3 separate regions of the Homo sapiens genome follow, and regions 1 and 3 are each linked to region 2. Evidence: promoter capture Hi-C in 16 types of primary human blood cells and fetal thymus (Javierre and others, 2016). All regions are on one chromosome and are shown on one strand. Each heading gives the region's core, a stretch centred on a gene start or on the middle of the fragment in contact. The rest is flanking DNA. Distances are from core to core; before and after follow the strand shown.

Region 1 (2,700 bases), core at 79-2,578, 330 kb after region 2:
GACCTCACCAGAAGCAGATGCTGGTGCCAAGCTTGTACAGCCTTCAGAAGCACGAGCCAAACAAACCTCTTTTCTTCATAAATTACCCAGCCTCAGATTCCTTTGTAGCAATACAAAATGGACTAACACAATCAGATCTCACTGTAACTCTGGAAACTTGCTGCCCACCCATTCTCTTCTAGCCAAAGTCCACTTTTTCCCCTCCAGAGTTACCACAAGGAAAATGAACAGCCTCAATCCTTACCACTCAGGCAAGATTAAAGAGTTACAGTGCAGCAGAGAGGCAGGACAGGACCACCGTGGGCCAAGCGATCCCAACTCTGCCCAATCAGTGGAGGCTGCCTTCTGGAGGCTGTAGGGGAGGATCAGTTTCCTCACCTCTTCCAGCTTCTAGATGCCGTGGCAATCCTTGGCTCACAGCCCCTTCTTCCATCTTCAAAGCCAGCAACTTAGCATCTGACCCTTTTTCCACATTACGTCTCTTTCTCTGATCAAACCCAGGAAAGCTTTTCTAATTTTAAGATTCATGTGATTAGACTAGGCCTGCCTGGATAATTCAGCACACTCCCCATCTCCAGGTTCTGTACCCTCATCACATCTGCAGAGACCCTTTTGCCATATAAGGAAACATATTCACATGTTCTGGGGATAAGGGTGCAGACATCTTTGAGGGCCTTTATTCTATCTACCATAAGGACACGATCAAAAACATTATAGAGGCATGCCAGGCAATTAATTAATGAAAGTGTTATGACATTTTTCTGAATTCTGTGATGTTGTTACTTGTCCTTTTTAATGTCTGTCATTTGTTGTGATTTCTTTTCTCATTCTTTCTTACAAATATTCTCTTCGGTACATAATTTTGTATTTGTAATTGCGTGTTTTTTAAAATTATTTTTTAGACAGGGTCTCACTCTGTCACCCAGGCTGGAATGCAGTGGCACAATCCTAGCTCACCACAGCCTTGAATTCCTGGGCTCAGGCAATCCTCCCACCTCAGCCTCCCAAGTAGCTAGGACTACAGGCATGCACCAACATGCCTGGCTGAGTTTTTTTGTTTGTTTGTTTTTTTGGGGTGTTTTTTTTTGAGATAGAGTCTCACTCTGTTGCCCAGACTGGAGTTGTGTGAACATGGCTCACTGCAGCCTCGACCTCCTGGGCTCACGTAATCTTTTCATCTCAGCCTCCTGAGTAGCTGGGACCACAGGTACGTGCCACCACACTTGGCTAATTTTTAAATTTTTTTGTAGAGACAGGATCTCACCATGTCACCCAGGCATGTCTCGAACTCCTGGGCTCAAGTGATCCTCCCACTTTGGCCTCCCAAAGTGCTGAGATTATAGGTGTGAGCCACTCACCCAGCCTTTTTTTTTTTTTTTTTAAGAGATAGGGTCTTGCTATATTGTCCAGGCTGGTCTCATACTCCTCACAATTGATCCTTCCACCTCAGCCTCCCAAAGTGCTGACATTAGAGGCATGAGCCCCCACACCTGGCCTATATTCTTTTTTCTTAAATAGGACTGCCCAGGCCAAGCGCCATGGTTCATGCCTGTAATCCCAGCATTTTGGTTGGCCAAGGCAGATGGATCACCTGAGGTCAGGAGTTCAAGATTAGCCTGGCCAACATGGTGAAAAACCTGTCTCTACTGAAAATACAAAATTAATCTGGTGTAGTGGCCCATGCCTTGCGGTCCCAGCTACTTGGGAGGCTGAGCCAGGAGAATTGCTTGAACCCAGGAGGCACAGGTTGCAGTGTGCCAAGATCGTGCCTTTGCACTCCAGCCTGAGTGACAAGATTGAAACTCTGTCTCAAAATAAGTAAATTAAATTAAATAATGTAAAATAAAATAAAATAGGACTGCCCAAATTGTGTAAGCCTCAGAACCCACGTAAGCTGACTAAAGGGCACCTCTACTTGCCCATTGACTAACCTGAACACCAGATGAAATTGCTCTTCCAAACACCACTAGCTGGGGAGTTGGCTCTTGGCTGGGGTTGGTCAGTGCACAGGCCAGTAAGGGAGCTGGGCAAGTGCAGAAGTGGAGACTAGCTGTGTCCCAGACAGCGACTCTCCGGCTGTGACCCTGGAGAGTCCTTTAGCAGGGCAAAGTGCAACATAGGCAGACCTTAAGGGATGACTCAGTAACAGATAAGCTTTGTGTGCCTGCAGGGGGATGGGAAGAGGGTGGGGCAGGAGAGGGACATAAAAGGGCTCTGAGGCATTGTACTGTGAATTCCTTCAGTCTCCTGCTCTGCTCAGCCAGTCAGCCCTGCCTCCCTTGTTTAGGACCACACAGCACTGCTGGGTGTCTGCCTTTCCTTGTGACTCTTCTCTAGCCTCTGCATGGCCAGCAGCCCTCTTCTTTTCTCCTATTCTCTTAAGAAACATGCCCATCACCTGCAGTTTCTCTGGGCTCCCCGTTAATCTGCCTTCCTCATCTCCTAATGCTGCCTCCTCCCTCCCATTGCCGGTGCCTGGAAATAGTCAAGGCTGGGTTCTGTTCTTTTGCTTGAATTTCTTTCACTTGGCTTCTTGACTCTTTCTAAACTACAATCCCCCCATTCTCACTGCCTTAGTTTTCCCTCTCTCTGTGTTTCTCAAACTATATCCCACCACGCCCTGACAAGGGCTTCTCTCCTGTAGATCATCCCTTTTCTAGTATTTTGCTAGAAATATATAGTGGGATTTTCTCCTTTGCC
Region 2 (2,875 bases), core at 232-2,731:
CCTGTAATCCACCTACTCAGGAGGCTGAGGCAGGAGAATTGCTTGAACCCAGGAGGCGGAGGTTGTGGTGAGCCGATATTGAACCATTGCACTCCAGCCTGGGCAACAAGAGCGAAACTCCATCTCAAAAAAAAAAAAAAAAAAGAAAATAGATAAATATTTGTAGTTCTATGATTACTAAATATATCTACACTGACCTATATATACCTGTATAAAGATATATACCTGTACTATACTATATACCTATATTGTCCAGTATCATGTTGCCCACTGTCAAGAAACAAAATTTCATCAAATTTAGTTTAAAGTTCTTGGCCAGGCATGGTGGCTCACGCCTGTAATCCCAGCACTTTGGGAGGCCGAGGTGGGCAGATCACCTGAGGTCAGGAGTTTGAGACCAACCTGGCCAACACGGTGAAACCCTGTCTTTACTAAAAATACAAAAATTACCCGGGCATGGTGACACACTCCTGTAATCCCAGCTACTCGGGAGACTGAGACAGAAGAATTGCTTGAACCCGGGAGGCAGACGTCATAGTGAGCCAAGATTGTGCCACTGCACTCCAGGCTGGGCAACAGAGTTAGACTGTCCTCTGTCTCAAAAAAAAAAAAAAATCGAATTGGCTTTTATTAGTGATTCATGAATCAGGCAGCATCTCATCTATAAAACAGAAAAGTGTTCTAATGAGCTGAGCAGAAGGGGTTGGGCTTATAGGCAGAAAAGGGCTGAAGAAAGCAGAAATAAGGAACAAAAAGCAGATTGGTCATTTTGAAGTTACTTTCCTCAAAGAGTTACATCAGAGGGGACTTCTTTATCATGCCAGCTCAGGTATATGGGCCCCTTCTCCTATTTGTTGGAAAACTGACCCCTTTTAAAGCTGAGTTTAATTACGCAGCACCTAGGACAAGTTGCCTCCATTCTGGTTTTGTCTGCTCTCTTGAGGCCTAGTGCCAGAGTTCTGTCCAAAACAACGACCTCCCATAAACTTTATTTAACACCATTGATCTTTTTTCCTACGTCTAAGTCACCCCAACTGTTATAAATTCCTATTACAAAGGGATCCCTGCTATGCTAATTGCAACCTTTGGGGTCTAACCGTGCTGTACACACACACACACACACACACACACACACACACACATGCTCAACAAATTTATGCTATTTGATAAGAGGCAATTTGACGTCAAGAGAAGAACTGTTTGGCCTAGGCTCTATGCCAAGTCTTGGTTGTGCCACTAACCGTGAAACATACCCTCTCTGACCTTCAGTTTTCTGGCTGCAGACCTATTTTCCCAGGGGTGCCAGGGAGGGAGGATAGGCAACTGGTCCATTCGTTTATCCTCCCCACCTTCCCGGCGCAGCCTTCTCAGGGAAACTCCGCCTCAAGGCTGGGGACTGGAGGAAGGGTGGTGGGGCCACGGTGGCCATCTTTGTGCGGGGCGACCCGCCGCCCACGTGCTGCGGCTCCCGGGCCATCTTTGTGCGGGGCCGCGCTTCCGCCAGCGCCGCAGCGGGGAATCTGCAGTAGGTCTGCCGGCGATGGAGTGGTGGGCTAGCTCGCCGCTTCGGCTCTGGCTGCTGTTGTTCCTCCTGCCCTCAGCGCAGGGCCGCCAGAAGGAGTCAGGTGGGCTCCGGGCAGTGCCGAGCCTGCCCCTTGGGCTCGGGGTCTGGCCGGAGTCCCGAGGCGCTCCCCCGCGCGGCCGGCTCCCGGGAAGATGCCGTGGCCGCTGTAGCTCGGAGCTGGGCAGAAGGCACCGGGGCGCCTTGCGGCGGAGAGTGAGGTGCCGGGGTCTCTGCTCCTGCTCTGGACCCTGGAGAGTAACCCATTCCCCGGAATTCAGAATGACAGGGAGGAGAGGGAATTCCCCGTTCACCCGCAGGAGGCGTGGCCCGTGCTTGGCTACTCTGGACCTGCCTGAAACACTGAGGGGTCGGGGATGGGGGCAAATGTCGTGCGCGCGAGCGTGTGTGTATATGCGTTGCCAGAAGAGAAGAGGGGTTTAATGTCTGTAGCTTTTAACTGATCCTCTTTGTGGAGTTCAATTTGATTAGTAGAAAGTGAGAGTCCGCGTCACTATCCATAGCATTCTGAGGGTTGAGCATTAAGCTTGGGAATTTTCCAGTTTCTTGGACACCTGACAGCCGGATAGAGGAACAGACTTGACGTGAGCGTGGGAGTTGCACACACAAAAATTCCTCCCTAGCGTTTCGTTTCCATCAGTGGGATGGGAAGGGGATTTCTGAAAGTTTTGGTCTTCTGTTTCTTCTGTTGGTGTGGTGTCAGCAAATAACATTCAGGAAAATTTTTTTAACTCTCATTTACTTCACTTTTTAAAGGTTCAAAATGGAAAGTATTTATTGACCAAATTAACAGGTCTTTGGAGAATTACGAACCATGTTCAAGTCAAAACTGCAGCTGCTACCATGGGTGAGTTCTTTTCTTTGATGTGTCTTTGAGAGTTTAGTTGCTGTCACAGGAAGTATTCTAACATCCTTGAGAGATTTTGGTTGCAGTGGTCAGAAAGGCAAGGATGTTTTTCTATTTCTGGGGAATAAAAATGCTCTCGCATGGGAAAGGCTCAGGTGGTGTCAACCTAACCACTGACTCACTGCGGGATTCAGTGCATGTGCATCTGTTTTTCCCACTGGGCTGCAAGCTTCCTGAGGTCAGGGTCTGTGTCTTATTTGCTGTTGTCTCCCTGGTGCTAGCTGTCAGTGCGTGCTCGATAAATATTGTTGAGGAAATAAACCCATCTATCGCTGAATCTAGTCCTAAATTTCCTGATGGTTATCTTTAGAAAATGCACATCAGGCTGGGCATGGTGGTTCATGCCTGTAATCCCAGCACTTTGAGAGGCCAAGGCAGGTGGATCA
Region 3 (3,009 bases), core at 358-2,857, 320 kb before region 2:
TCAAAGAAAAAAAAATCACAGAAAATGAGAAAATATCTTCAGATGAATGAAAACATAACACCAAACACTTGAGAGATGCAGCAAAAGCATCAGCTCAGAGGGAAATTTGTAACTATAAAACAGCTACATTTAAAAAAAAGATCTCAAATTGATAAATCATCATTTTGTAAAATATATACATACCTATAGATATAGACACATAGATTTGCATGGGGGTATTTCCAGAAGGATAAACATCAAAATGTCAATACAGGTTATCTCTTGAGTGTTTGGGAATTTTTTTCTTTACGCTTTCTTTTTTATATTTCTATGATTATTACATTTAAGTTATAAAATGGAAAAATAAATCTCCAAAACCAATAGCACTTTGAAGCTACAAGCCATAGCCCAAGACCTATTTTACTCTAAACACAGTATCCAATGGTGTCATGCATTTTTAAATAAATAAGGTAGATAATTCATAAAGTGACATTCAACAAGCACTTCTTGAGCACCTATTATGTTCTAGGCACTGTTACATAAATGACTTTACTTCAGTGTGCTTAGATTCCCCTTTCCATTCCTAAGTATGGTGTCAAGTGTATCCACTCTCCTTTGTCACAAGTATTTGAATTTGGATTTTAAGTCTCATTTCTAATTGTTTAATGCAGTTAAATCCCTACTAAAGGAATATCTGGCATCACACTACCAACCCTTGGCCTGCCTCAGTGATTTCAGGCTTTGCAAGGTCAAAGTAATTTGTCTCATCAATCACCACCTCTGTACTGGCCTACTCCTGAAAGTAGACAGCCTACTGACTCTGAGGTGCATTCTTAAGGTTGATTGCAAAGTGGGAGGACCAAATCTCAAAAACTGGGCCCCACTGGCCAACACTATCAAATACAAATTCTCCACTTGCTAAATATTCCTTCTGGTATCTTTCTCCCACTTTCCTTACTCCCTTCCTTTCTGGAACTCTGATTTGGCCTCCTTCTAACTCGCCTCTCTGCTGTAAGACCACTAGATGGTGCAGTTTTAGAACCCATTCTCACTGGATCTTCTCTCCTCTCTCTGGCTCTCCCGCCACAGATCACATGTCTAATCCAGCAAGAAAACACCTTGGGGCAGGAGTTTCCACTGCCAAGACAGCTATACCCAAAGGGGATGGCAATAGCAACAACCTCTGTTCAGTTTTGTGGTCCTCGTGCAGCTGGTTGTGTGTTCATCTGTTGACATTTGGAGGTGCGGTGGGGGATGTTAATCAGAGGAGCAGTACCTGAGAGAGGGCCTCTTTCTCACACACTGCGGAGAACCTCTGTGAACAAGGAAGAGGGTAACACTCTAGGTGGCGATGCACGGAGCCCCGTGGCCTGGTTGCTCGGCAGGGTGAGGAGAAGCTGTAACTGCCAGAGCCTGAGAATCGCCCCTTCTCAGGACATGGCGTACTCCCTGCGCTCGCCTGCACACTGCAGGGTCAGCTGACTGCCGTCCCTCCACTTACAACAGCGGGACGGCCACTCTCCCTGACGCACGCAGTGACCCGAACAAAGCCCGTGGGAATCATGGGGCGTTCCTGGAGGGTCGCCTAGACGACCCAGCCCAACCCCACCCACAGTGCCTGGCAACCTAGACCAGTCAGGGACGCGGCAGGAAATGGAAGAGCCTCCGCAAGAGGCTCTGGCTGAACCCTTGAAACATGAAAGCCCAGCCGCTCCCTCAAGTGCTGGCCACACTAAGGGCCAGGAAGAAGACGACCAGAAGAACCAGGCCGAAAGGAAGGCAGATAACCACACTGCTCACAGAATAGCTGACCAGACTGCCCTAAGAGTGCCTAGCCAGGCTGAATCCAGCATATTTAGCCAAGCTACCAACGGAGTAGCTGAACAAAATGGGCATAGTACACCTGGTCAGGCTGGCCGCAGAGCATCCAACCCTGCTGATGTTTCTGACCTTAGAGCAGATGATCAGGTTAATCAAACACCGTCTGAACAGACTAAAGGCAAGGCATCTAGCCAAGCTAATAATGTACAGCATGAACAGAGTGATGGTCAGGTGTCTGGCCTGACGGAGGAAAGAACTGCTGAACAGACTGAACGAAGATTACCTACCCAGGCTGAGAGAAGAACTTCTGGGCAGATTGATGGTAGACTGGCTATGCCATCTGACCAGAGAGGTTCCAGACAGACCGACCACAGAATGGCAGGCCAGTCTGAGAGAAGAGCTTCCGAGCAGATGGACCGCAGAATGTCTGGCGAGGCTGAGCGAAGAACTTCTGAGCAGATTACACACAGATTATCCAAACTATCTGAGAGAAGACCTTCTGTGCAGATTGACAGTGGGTCATCCGTCCCATCTGACCAAAGTCCTTCTGTACAGATTGACAGTGGATCGTCCGTACCATCTGACCAAAGACCTTCCGTACAGATTGACCGCAGAATGTCAGGGAAAGTTAGGAGAAGAAGTTCTGAGAAGACTGACTACAGATTGGCTGGCCTGGCTGACCCAGGAACTTCTGAGCAGACTGACCTCAGATTGTATGGCCTCGTTGACCACAAAACATCTGTAAAGACTCACCACCAAGTGTACGGCCAAGCCACTGAACTAGCTGAACACCAGGCTATTGACCAAGCTCATAGTAATGCTGATCAACCTCCAGTTGACAATGCTCACTACACTGAATCTGACCAGACTGACCACTTAGCAGACAGACAAGCTAATCATAAAGACCAGCTGTCTTACTATGAAACACGTGGCCAGTCTGAAGACAGAATATTTCCCCAGTTAGGCAACAGCAAAGAGGACAAAGAGGCTGACTACAGAGTACAACCCTGCAAATTTGAGGATAGCCAAGTAGACCTCAATTCCAAGCCTTCAGTTGAAATGGAAACTCAGAATGCAACCACTATCCCACCCTACAACCCAGTTGATGCCAGATTCACCAGTAACTTCCAAGCAAAAGACCAAGCTCTTTTCCCAAGACTCCCCTCCATCTCATCCAAATTGAACTATACCAGCAGTCAAGAAAAAACT

What was found. Contacts are between HindIII fragments. The CHiCAGO score rates a contact against its expected background, and 5 or more counts as called.
Region 1: a contact is called between a fragment that was not itself captured here and the fragment with the promoter of POGLUT1 in region 2, in 1 of 17 cell types (erythroblasts). The highest score is 5.6, in erythroblasts.
Region 3: the fragment with the promoter of TEX55 here is called in contact with the fragment with the promoter of POGLUT1 in region 2 in 4 of 17 cell types (non-activated CD4 T cells, activated CD4 T cells, fetal thymus and 1 more); the score reaches 10.5 in non-activated CD4 T cells.

The regions. Positions count from the first base shown.
Region 1 is chr3:119,793,129-119,795,828 of GRCh38, forward strand. The region is part of intron 1 of NR1I2 (nuclear receptor subfamily 1 group I member 2); the gene reads left to right. Among named protein-coding and RNA genes, the nearest start is that of NR1I2, 12 kb to the left of the region's middle. The HindIII fragment of the contact is 1,648 bases long and covers 505-2,152 here.
Region 2 is chr3:119,467,482-119,470,356 of GRCh38, forward strand. It overlaps POGLUT1 (protein O-glucosyltransferase 1), which reads left to right and starts at 1,482. Exons shown (of 11, transcript NM_152305.3): 1 at 1,482-1,625; 2 at 2,339-2,429. The coding sequence starts at 1,541. RefSeq lists enhancers at 1,146-1,646, 1,339-1,508 and a silencer at 1,559-1,758. The HindIII fragment of the contact is 3,798 bases long and covers 1-2,106 here.
Region 3 is chr3:119,144,558-119,147,566 of GRCh38, forward strand. It overlaps TEX55 (testis expressed 55), which reads left to right and starts at 1,608. Exons shown (of 3, transcript NM_152539.3): 1 at 1,608-3,009. The coding sequence starts at 1,633. It also overlaps a transcript of IGSF11 not described here. RefSeq lists a silencer at 865-1,159. The HindIII fragment of the contact is 11,642 bases long and covers 1-3,009 here.